Regions from separate parts of the Homo sapiens genome. Here region 1 is linked to region 2. The links are contacts of gene promoters, found by promoter capture Hi-C in human tissues and cell types (Jung and others, 2019). All regions are on one chromosome and are shown on one strand. Each heading gives the region's core, a stretch centred on a gene start or on the middle of the fragment in contact. The rest is flanking DNA. Distances are from core to core; before and after follow the strand shown. Region 1 has its middle 41 kb from the start of RBM47-AS1. Region 2 holds the start of RBM47 (RNA binding motif protein 47).

What was found. The method cuts DNA at HindIII sites, captures the fragments that hold promoters and counts their contacts. A contact is called where the count stands out against the background at its distance.
Region 1: a contact is called between a fragment that was not itself captured here and the fragment with the promoter of RBM47 in region 2, in 2 of the 25 tissues and cell types used here (IMR-90 fibroblasts and heart left ventricle).

Annotation. Positions count from the first base shown.
Region 1 is chr4:40,382,468-40,388,601 of GRCh38, forward strand. No RefSeq gene overlaps it. Among named protein-coding and RNA genes, the nearest start is that of RBM47-AS1, 41 kb to the right of the region's middle. The HindIII fragment of the contact is 4,161 bases long and covers 2,794-6,134 here.
Region 2 is chr4:40,626,759-40,632,682 of GRCh38, forward strand. It overlaps RBM47 (RNA binding motif protein 47), which reads right to left and starts at 3,106. Exons shown (of 7, transcript NM_001098634.2): 1 at 2,638-3,106. RefSeq lists enhancers at 1,963-2,839, 2,840-3,717, 2,900-2,969. The HindIII fragment of the contact is 13,848 bases long and covers 1-5,924 here.

The sequences.
Region 1 (6,134 bases), core at 3,624-6,123, 240 kb before region 2:
CAAAAGCTGAGGAATTTCATCAACACCAAACCTGTCCTACAAGACATGCTACAAGGAATTCTTCTATATGAAAGAAAAGGATGATGTTAATGAGAATAAGAAATCATCTAAAAGTAGAAAACTCACTAGTAATAGTAAGTACACAGAAAAACACAGTATAACCGTATAACCCTGTAACTGTAGTGTGTAAAAACTACTCCTATCTTGAGTAGAAAGACTGAAAGGTGAACCCGTCAAAAATAATAACTACAACAACTTTTCAAGAATTAGACAGTATAACAAGATATAAATAGAAGCAACAAAAAGTTAAAAAGTGGGGGATAAAGTTAGAGTAAAACATTTGTAATAGTTTTTGTTTGTTAGTTTGTTTATGCAATCAGTGTTAAGTTGTCATCAGTTTAAAATAATGGGTTATAAGATATTATTTATTTGCAAGCCTCCTGGTAACCTCAAATCAAAAAACATACAATAAAAAACAATAGGCCTGGAGCGTTGGCTCATGCCTGTAATTCCAGCACTTTGGGAGGCTGAGACAGGTGGATCACTTGAGGTCAGAAGTTCAAGACCAGCCTGGCCAACATGGTGAAACCCTGTCTCTACTAAAAATACAAAAATTAGCCAGGTGTGGTGGTAGGTGCCTGTAATCCCAGCTACTTGGGAGGCTGAGGCACAAGAATTGCTTGAACCTGGGAGGTGGAGGTTGCAGTGAGCCGAGATTGTGCCACTGCACTCCAGCCTGAGCAACAAAGTGAGACTCAGTCTCAAAAACAAAAACAAACAGAAAAAAAAACCAACAAAAACCCAATATATTAAAACATACCACTTAAGAAAATCACCTTCACCAAAAAGTAGACAGGAAGAATGGAAAGAAGGAAGAAAAGAAACCACAAAACAACCAGAAAACAACAAAATGACAAGAGTAAGTCCTTACTTATCAATAATAACATTGACAGTAAATGGACTAAACTCTTTAATCAAAAGACATAGAGTGGCTGCAGAGATTAAAACAAAAACATGACCCAGCGATGTGTTGCCTATAAGAAGCACACTTCACCTATAATGACACATGTAGACTGAAAATAAAGGAATGGAAAAAGATATTCCATGCAAATGAAAACCAAAAAGAGCAGGAGTGTCTACACTTACACCAGACAAAATAGATTTCAAGACAAAACTATTCAAAGAGACAAAGAAGTTTGTTATATAATGATTAAAGGGTCAGTTCAGCAAGAGGATATAATAATTACAAATATATATGCACCCAAAACTGGAGCACTCAGATATAAAGCAAATTATTATCAGACCTAAAGAGAGAAATAGGTCCCAATATAATAATAGCTGGAGACTTCAGCACTCCACCTTCAGCATTGGACAGATCACTCAGACAGAAAAATCCACAAAGAAACATCAGGGCTGAGCACAGTGGCTCACGCCTGTAATCCCAGCACTTTGGGAGGCCAAGGTGGGCGGATCACAAGGTCAGGAGATCGAGACCATCCTGGCTAACACGGTGAAACCCCGTCTCTCCTAAAAATACAAAAAATTAACCAGGCGTGGTGGCAGGCACCTGTAATCCCGGCTACTTGGGAGGCTGAGGCAGAAGAATTGCTTGAACCTGGGAGGTAGAGTTGCAGCGAGCCGAGATCACGCCACTGCACTCCAGCCTGGGCAACAGAGCGAGACTCTGTTTAAAAAAAAAAAAAAAAAAAATTAAAACAATTGAACTCAGGGAGATAGAGAATAGAGTGATGATTCCCAGAGGCTGGGAAGGGTAATGGGGATAGAGGGAAGAGGGAAGTGGGGTGGTTAATGGATACACAAATATAGTTACATAGAATTAATAAGATCTAGTATTTGATAATACATCAATTTATTGTACATTTAAAAACAGCCAAAAGAGTATAATTGGATTGCTTGTAACACAAAGAAAGGATAAATGCTTGAGGTGATGGATATCCCATTTACCCTGATGGGATTATTATAAATTGCATGCCTGTATCAAAATATTTCATGTACTCTCATAAATATATATGTCTACTATACACCCACAGAAATAAAAAAATTAAAATTAAAAATAATTTTTAAATCTCACATATACAGAATAAAAACCCAAGTAAGACTGGGTGCAGTGGCTCATACCTGTAATCCCAGTACTTTGGGAGGCCAAGGTGGGAGAATCACTTGAGGCCATGAGTTCAAGAGCAGCCTGAGGAACGTAACAAAATCCCCATCTCCAAAAAAATTTTTTTTTTTTGAGACGGAGTCTCGCTCTGTCACCCAGGCTGGAGTGCAGTAGCGCAATCTCAGCTCACTGCAAGCTCTGCCTCCCAGGTTCACACCATTCTCCTGCCTCAACCTCCTGAGTAGCTGGGACTACAGGTGCCCACCACCATGCCTGGTTAATTTTTTGTATTTTTAGTAGAGACAGGGTTTCACCATGTTAGCCAGGATGGTCTCGATCTCCTGACCTCGTGCTCCTGCCTGTCTCGGCCTCCCAAAGTGCTGGGATTACAGGTGTGAGCCACCTTTCCCGGCCTCTAAAAAAATTTAAAAGAAAATTAGCCAGGAGTAGTGGCATGAGACTACAGTCCCAGCTACTGAGAAGGCTGAGGGAGTGAGATCACTTCCTAGGAGGCTGAGGCTGCAGTGAGCTATGATTACACCAATGCACTCCAGCCTGGGCAACAGAGCAAGACCTTCTCTCAAACAAAACAAAACAAAACACCCAAGTAGGGAGGCTTGCATATATCCTCTTAACTTCCAAATGACAGAGGAATAGAAAGCAATGCTAAAGTAGCCAGGCATGGTGGTGCGTGCCTGTGGTCCTAGCTACTCAGGAGGATGAGGCAGGAGGATCACTTGAGCCCAGGAAAACGAGGTTGCAGTGAGCTGAGATCATGCCACTGCACACCAGCCTGGGCAACAGAGTGAGGCTCTGTCTGAAATAAAGAAGGAAAGAAAAAGAAAGGAAGAAAGGGAGGAAGGAAGGAAGAAAGGGAGGGAGGGAAGGAAGGAAGGAAGGAGGGAGAGAAGGAAGAAGGGAGGTAAGAAATGCTGCCAATCAGGAGTAGGAGAGGCCAAATCAGTGCGTGATGAGATCAAGTTGCTGTGGGCAGGGAAGTGGGCTGTGAGTTCAGGAGATTCCCAAGGAGCTAACCAGGAAAATTACAAAAAATGGGGAGATCCTTAATGTGGCTTGAAGGAAGAAGAGAAGAGAAGCCTTTGGGGCAGGGGTTTGATTGTCCACAGATCGGATAAGAGAATTGGGGAGCAGGTATGTAGTGATCATAAAACAAGGCAGGTAATGAGAAATGCACTGTATAGACTAAGAGGGCACCTCCATTGGTCAGATTTTATCGTTTGCTTTTTCATTGCCTCTCTGGGAAGTGTAAGGTGGTCATTGAGTAGGAGCAGCTGATTTCATCTTTTTACATAGTAACTTGATTAACATGTTTTCTGTGTAATTTTTGTCAGCATTGGTGAGGGGAGGGGAGGCCAGGGGAGGGAAGGAGAGGGGAGGGAAGGAGAGGGGAGGGAGGCTCAGTGGGGCTCAGTAAGATATGTACTCTCATGCCTTGCTGCAGGAAATGTAAATTAGTACAACCTCTTTGGCAAGCAACTTGGCAATATGTCTCAAAACAGCTTAAAAATGGCCATCCAGTTGGGTGCAAACTTTGGAGCAGTATCTTATAGAAATAAATGATCAAAAATGTGACTAATGAAAGGGAGGCCATCAGTGTTGTATATATGAGTAAAAAAAGCATAACATATTAAAAAGACTATAAAGAAACTCATAAAATTTTGAGCAGTTGTTATATCTAAGGAGGGGGATTACGAGAAATTATTATTATTATTATTATTTTTGAGACAGAGTTTCACTCTTGTTGTCCCGGCTGGAGTGCAGTGGTGCGATCTCGGCTCACTGCAACCTCCGCCTCCCAGGTTCAAGTGATTCTACTGCCTCAGCCTCCTGAGTAGCTGGGATTACAGGCATGTGCCACCATGCCCGGCTAATTTTGTATTTTTAGTATGGACAGTGTTTCTCCATGTTGGTCAGGCTGATCTCGAACTCCCGACCTCAGGTGATCCACCCACCTCGGCCTCCCAAAGTGCTAGGATTACAGGCGTGAGCCACTGCACCCAGCCTAAGAAATTATTGACTTCATTTTCCTTTTTTTATTTTGAGATGGAGTCTTGCTCTGTCACCCAGGCTGGAGTGCAATGGTGCGATCTTGGCTCACTGCAACCTCCGCCTCCTAGGTTCAAGCCATTCTCCTGCCTCAGCTTCCCATGTAGCTGGGACTACAGGCATGTGACACCATGCCCAGCTAATTTTTGGTATTTTTAGTAGAGACGGGGTTTTACCATGTTGGCCAGGCTGGAGTCAAACTCCTGACCTCAAGTGATCCACCCACCTTGGCCTCCCAAAGTGCTGGGATTACAGGCGTGAGCCACCGTGCCCAGCCTTCATTTTACTTTTAAGATATTCCTGTTCTGTGAGTTATCAGAAGTAATAAAAATTTTAAAAATGTTTTTCTAAATTTCTCCAGTATGTTACTTGTAAGAAAAATGTATTTATTTATTTATTTGTTTGTTTTTTTGTTTCTTTAGAGACAGGATCTTGCTCTGTCACCCAGCTAGAGTGCAGTGGCACAGTCACGGCTCACTGCAGCCTCAACCTCCAAGGCTTAAGAGATCCTCCTGCCTCAGCCTCTCAAGTAGATGGGACCACAGGTGTGTGCCACTGCATCTGGCTAATTAATTTTTTTTTTTTTTTGTAGAGATAGAATCTCCCTATGTTGCCCAGGCTAGTCTCGAGCTTCTGGGCCCGAGTGATCATCCTGTCTCGGCCTCCCAAAGTGCTGGGATTATAGGTGTGAGCAACTGCCTGGCCAAGAAAAATAAATGTAAAAATAAATGGATTTTTAGGGCAGCAAAATATTCTGTATGATACTGTAATGGTGGATACATGCTATTATACATTCGTCCAGACCCACAGAATGTACACCACCAAGAGTGAACTCTGATGTAAACTGTGGACTTTGGGTGACGATGAACTATCAATGTGGGTTTATGCGTAACAGACGGACCCCTCTGGAAGGGAATGTTGATACACTGGGGACTATGCATGTGTATGGGGAGGGGTATGTGGGAACTCTCTATAGCTTCCTTTGAATTTTGCTGTGAGTGTAAAACTGCTTTAAAAAAAAATCCTACTGGGAGTGGTGGCTCATGCCTGTAATTCCAGCATTTTGGGAGGCTGAGGCTGGCACATGGTTTGAGGCCAGGAGTTTGAGACCAGCCTGGCCAATATGGTGAAACTCTGTCTCTACTAAAATTACAAAAATTAGCTGGGCACGGTGGCACACAACTGTAGTCTGAGCTATCTCGAGAAGCTGAGGCAGGAGAATCGCTTGAACCCGGGAGACAGAGGTTGCAGTGGGCCAAGATTGCATCACTGCACTCCAGCCTGGGTGACAGAGTGAGACTCTGTCTCAAAAAATGCAGGAGGCGGAGGTTGCAGTGAGCCGAGATCACGCCATTGCACTCCAGCCTAGGCGACAGAGCGAGGCGCCATCTCAAAAAGAAAAAGAAAAAGTGTACTAGTGCCCTCAGTTGTATTTATCTTGGTTGATGAAAACCTGTTTAGTCTTATGGACCCAGAAGAGAAGGTGTTTGAGCCAACATTTTCTCAGAAAAGGATCATTCATTTGTTCATTCATTCCCAGCTCCTCCTCTGTGTCAAGCACTGTTTTAGGCACTGGGGATGCACCTATGAGCAAATCAGGAGACCTCTCTGTCATGATGGAGCTTATGTTCTCCAGGGGATGAGACTCAATAGTCAACAGAGCAATGAAGAACAATGAAGCAGGGCCGTGGAGACAGAGAGTGATGGGGAGAGGTGTGTGTGCTCCTTTAGACAGAGTGCTTGGGAAAGGCCTCTTAATGAAGAGTTATGTGAACACAGACCTGAAGGAGGCGGGGGAGTGAGCCATGTGGCTGTCTTGAGGAAATGCTTTCTAAGCAGAGGGAACCGCAAACGTAAAGACCCCAAGGACAAGCTTGCTGCGTGTGATTGAGGCACAGAGAGGAGGCCAGTGTGGCTGGAGATGAGGTTAGAGAGTTAGGGGAGG
Region 2 (5,924 bases), core at 1,856-4,355:
AGCAATCAGAACTCCAGCTCAGACGACCTCAGGAGTTTTACCAACAGGATGATTCAGGACCACACACAAAAAATGGCAGGGTGCCATTTCCCCCGAATCTCTCCCGCATAAGATGGAAACAACAACTTGAGGTGGCAACTGAGCAATTAGTTACTGATCATTTCTATGACAATTCTCTGAAGGCTCCAAAGGCCTCCTATCTTGAAACCCAGGTCATCTCTGCATTGCTATTATTGAAAATCTTTATCCAGTTGCTCTTTGAAGCCACTACTTGGAGCAGTAATGTTGGGACCAACACACACCTTTTATGATATTAAACCAGAAAATCAGCATCATCATTAAGACACAGAGACTGTTCCCAAGAGGGAAAGAAAATATATCTCCTAATCAGGCCAGTAGCTGAAACACTGCAATATAACCTGTAGCTTGGAATCACGGTGACAAGCACTTAAAGCTGCATTTAATGTCTTCATTGTAACTTCATCAAAGTTTGGCACACAAATTCTACCTTTATTCTAAGCATACCCTTTTTCTAAGTCTCATGAATCCCAAACTTAAACCCTCTTCAGAGTTTTTTTTCCCCAGAATTATGTATCTTCTGGGATTACCTAATCACAGTTTCACTTGAGCCTGGGTCCAATTTTAAGAAAATCTCCCTCCCTTCACGCTTATATCCACTCCCCTGACCTTTTCTGAAAAATCAAGAGACTTAAGATGTGGAGGCGGAAACTTACTGAAATAGCCAAATGCTTTTCTATAGCAATGAAAGCTCAGTCATTTGGGACATGATTTAATCTTGAGCTTCAGAGCAGAATTTGAAAAGCAAATTAAATCCTTTTGTAAGAAAATAATTTCATCTTAACCCAATCTTTTAAAAAATCATTACCTAGAACAGTAAACCAAATAGTCTAATATGAATGTTCTTATCATGTGAGGAAAAAAATGAGTAGTCTTTAACACTAGTTAGAGCAAGTCTATAGAACACGTGTCCAGAAGCATGTAGTTCCCTTGCTTTCTGTCTTTATTTCATCCTCAGTATCACTACTGCTTTGGGCAGAATTCTTTCAAAATTTAATTTAAAGCAGCACAGTGGGGGAATCAAAAATAAATATGTTGACTATTAAAAATATAGAGATTGGTAAAAAAAATGATGATGATGAATTCTCAATCCTACAAACTTCTGTAAACGCAAAAACCAAGAGGAAGATAATAAATCTTTAATAATTGATTGATATTCAGAATATCTTGATCTAATTAATTTAAAGCATGGCCTACCTAGCCAGGTAAAGGACGGCACAGCTAGGCTTATTTCTTCATTTGACACATACTGAAAGTTAATAATGAAGCTAGGTGCTTGGGAAATTTCTGAGACCCCATCCTTCCAGCATGCAATAATTAAGTCAAAGAGGCCAACAGTGTGTATATCAGAACAAGGTGAAGGGTAAAGCAGACCAGAAAAAAATATTAAAAACCAAACCATCTCCTCCTTTCTTTTTTTCCTTCTGTTTTCCTTTCAGACTGGGTTGATTTTAGTTCCCTCCAAGACTTCAAGTCATTGATCTAACAAAGATCATTGTTTAAATTAATAGCAACACAAACTCCCACAAAGTGATCTCTTCTTATGCTCTAGGTTGAGTACTTTGGTTTATCTAGAGGTTGTGTGTTACGCCGCTGACCACCTTTCACCTTTTAGAATCGGCACCTGCAATTCTCAAATGCTCTGGATCTAATTGCCAACCTTTTGAGCTCAAAACTTCGGCAACTCCTTCATGTTGGGTTGTCAACCCTTTGCTTTCCCTCCCCTGAGAAATTCGTATGACCTTGCCTTAAAACTTTTAAAGAATACATTTTAAAATCTATATTCCTGCTAAAGAAAACAGTGAGTCATTAAAATACCACCAGATAAAAAAAAAAGGTTTGATTTTTAGTTCAGGTCGGTAATGGCCTGTAAGTACCTTGAAGATGGTATCTTCCTATCACTTATGCCTTGGGACAGTACCCAAGAGTGGCTGAACTTTTACCTAATTAAAAAATGAGTCATTTATTTGAAAAATTCCACTTCCATTTATTTTATCTGATTTCTTAAATATCCGGTCAACTGCTAATTTGTCAGATGTCATAATTCGTCAGTCCTACCCTTTTCTACAGGCTGAATTTTTAATTTGAAACAACTACACCTCTACCGAGTGTTACTTTCAGACGTAAATTACTGCAGGAAGACCCCCCTCTGCCTTGGTTAACACTTAAATGAGATGCCTCCTGTCCAGGACGCTTCCTCAGTCTCACTGTAATAATCTGAGTCTAAAGTCACCTGTGCTTCTGGGCGGTCCAATCATGTATTTTCAAGAGTGAAAAAAAAAAATCAGTTTCTTTTATGGGAAAAGATTCATCACTACAGGAAACACGATGGGACTGACTGTATATGATTATCTGCCTTCCCAGAGGTTGACCCTTTTAAAACCGTTTTATAAACCCTTTATTTCCCACTAAATATACCAAGAGACAGAAGATGAGTGATAGCATGAGGGATAAGAGCTAAAGAGAGAAGAATAAGAAAAAAATATACACTTCAAAAATTGGGACCCAAATGTAAGATTAAGGGACAATAGTTAGAAGGACTACCAAAAACCACCTTACCTTTCCTTGTTAAGTTTTTGGAGCCGCCCACTTCAGAAATTAACACCATTCACAGCCCAGGAGCAACTTAACACAGCTAGGAAGTCACCTACAACATCTTCTCGTCCGCCTTCTTTTTAATGTAAAACCAAAATAAGGAGTGTCCAGCGACTCCCCACCGCGCCGCTTAAAGCAACAGAGCGTTTTAGGCTTAACTCCCAGGCTCTGGGAATTCCAGTGGGTCAGAATTGCTTAACCTTGGAGACTTGCAGAGAGAAAGTCTCCAGGAGGACCGCTCCCCAAACCCTGGTTTCTCTCTATCCCAAGCTGCACATTCCACAGTGGAAAGCGGGAGCGGCGACCCGAAGGCAGCGAAGTTCTCTCGGGCTCAGCTCCCGAGGCCGGGAGCGCGCGGCGGTTCCACCCGCAGAGCGGCGCCGCGTCCCGGCTGCGTGGGGCGCTGCGCACGGGAGCGCTCAGCGTCTAGTCTGCGGGCCCTTCCCGGTTCCCTCCCTCTCTCCTCCCGCCGCCCGCCCCCTGCCGAGGCCATCCGCCTCACAGTAGCAAGGTTGTCTCTCGTCTACTCCCTTCCCTTAAACTCACCAAACCAGATTTTTACTCCCAACACCGGCAACTTCCCGTAAATCTGCCCTGAAATTTTATCCTGCTGGCTGAGCCTCCCCTGGCTAAAGGCCAGTGCCACATTCCTGTTGTTTTTTAGGAGCGCAGATACCTTTGCTGAAGGTTCAAAGAAAATCGGCCTTGATGGCAGAGATTGGGGGACTTGACCAGACGGACTTCTCTCCCCGCCCCAAAAGTCACATGCCTTTCAGACACCCAGAAGTGGCACCTGCTCCACCTGGGGGCATCTGTCCGAGTCAGACGCTCGGCCCCCTTCGGGCTGCTCCGAGAAACCCAGCCAGAACCACGTTGGAGAAATTAGGAACCTGCTGCTGAATTTCAAGCCGATCGGAACCGCCCCGCTCCCCTTCTTCCCCCCATAAACAAGTCGCTGGACGAGGTGGGATCTCTGCGACCCCCGCGTGCCCGGGGAGAGCTCCCGGGGCGAGCTCCCGGGGCGTCCTTACCTGGGGCCGAGCATGGCTTGGCCGCGCGCAGGCAGGAGCGTCACGCGGACGGGGCCCTGACCTTTGCCGGGGCCTTCGCAGCAGGGCCTGGGGCCTGGGCGCTGCTCGTTCAGAAGTGGCTCATTTTAGTGCGCTCTGACCTAGAGTTACGGAGGGTTTCTAGAAAGGGAACAAAAAAACACTGCATTTAGAAACAGCAGCCAAGCCCTCGCTTCACCTTGCCTGCTCTCTGGGGAGTTGGCTCGAACCCCCACCCCATCCCAATTCCCAAGAAACCCAGATGTCCGCAATCCGCGCCCCACCCCCTCCGCCTTACCTGTTTATACAAGAGTTAAGGAGCCTCCCGCATTTCAGTGGAGCGCTAAGCCTGTTTGTAGGCGCGGAATGGGCCAACAGGAATCGAATTCTGTGACTAAACAAACTAGAAGAGGAAGCAGGCACCACCAGGAACCTAAAACAGAGTTGTGATTTCGGGTTGCAGTGTCATTCAGCTGAGGGGAAAGAAAAAAATACCGGGCTACTTTAGTGAAAGAATGTTCCAAAAATGGTTCTTTGCTGGTTGAGTTAACACATGCAAAGAGCTTAGAACGGTGCCTAGCACACAGTGTTAGCTGCCGTTATTGTTGTTGTTATTCTTCTTATTATTATTTACATTATGGCTTTTTTCTGAAGAAGAGTGTGTGGTCAGAGTTAGACATGGGCTGTAGCACCAGCATTGCCACTCACCAGCTGTGAGGCCATGAGCAAGATATTTAATCTCTCCCAGCCTCAGTTTCTGGAAGATTCTAACGATGGGATTTTTACAAACAGTTTATATTCATTGCTGACAGTCTTGAATACAATGGGAAATAAAGTCCCTGTAAAGGGTAGCCAACTGAATTTCATCTCACTTAAAAGTTACAAGATTGACAACAGAAATGGAGATAAATTTGCCTGCATTCCATGAAGCTCACTAACGGGAAGGAAATTCAGGGCCCAGCAATCACCCATCTGCTATGCTTAATTCTCATTTGTATTTTGGCACTTGACCTGGTGTCTTACCCTGGGATAGTTACTTATCCCAGACTGGGCCGGACAAATAATGACCCTTGCCGTTTGAAAAGCAGTATGAAAGAGAGGGAAATGATTTTGAAACTCCTCATAAATATTAAAAAGTGATTATTGAAGGCTAAAATGTTATCAGTGCCTCCACCCTTTATCCTCCATTTAACTTCACATTTAAAGAAAGAAATCATAATCCCTTTCCATTAGTGAGGCCCTTTCTACTTTATGGAGCACTTTCACCCTTCTTACTTTATGTGATCCTTACAAAATGATCCTATGAGCTATTTTGTCCCCATTTTGCAGATGAAGACACTGAGATCACACAGGTTAAGTGTAAGTCCAAGGTGGTGAGGCCAGGACTGGTTCTCAGTTCTAGTTAATTTTTTTTTAAGTTGAAAAATCAAACTGGATTTATTAAAATATATATAAATAACCCTCATTTTTCTTTATTTCATCAGTATTGGAAAGTTAAGTGAAAATTAATTAAAAAGTAGTAGTCCTAAGAGAGAGAAACAAAGGCTGAAGGGGTATCAAGAAAACCATAAATTTAAAAAGCAGCATTTGCCACCTTTGGGAAAAATGATTCCTTAAAACCAGCAAAGCATTCTGGAACATTTTAAATCCTTCTGATCTTTTATCTTCTCATGAGGCAAAATTTAACCCAGACAAATTCAACATTTCCTGTGTTTTAGGTTCATTCTTTGTCGATACCAGCCAGCATGTACTGTGAACAGCAGGCAGTGGGAACTCTCTTAGCTAAGTTCCCTCACCAGACCTAAGGGTTGATGCTGCCAGGCACAAACAACGGCTCCACCCCCTTAAGACAACTAAAAAACCCAGCTCCATATTAGCCTGAAATTTTCTTTTCTTTTCCAGAAGTATCTGGATTATGGCCTCAAAAAAGGCTCGCTGTCACAGACTGTCTGAGCTGAAGGATTCTAGAGGGGACATTCTCGCTGGGCACGGTGGCTCACGCCTGTAATCCCCACACTTTGGGAGGTCGAGGCAGGCAGATAACCTGAGGTCAGGAGTTCCAGATGAGCCTGGCCAACGTGGCGAAACCCCGTCTCTACTAAAAATACAAAAATTGGCTGGGCATGGTGGCAGGCACCTGTAATTCTAGCCACTCGGGAGGCTGAGGCGGGAGAATGGCTTGAACCCGGGAGGTGAAGTTTG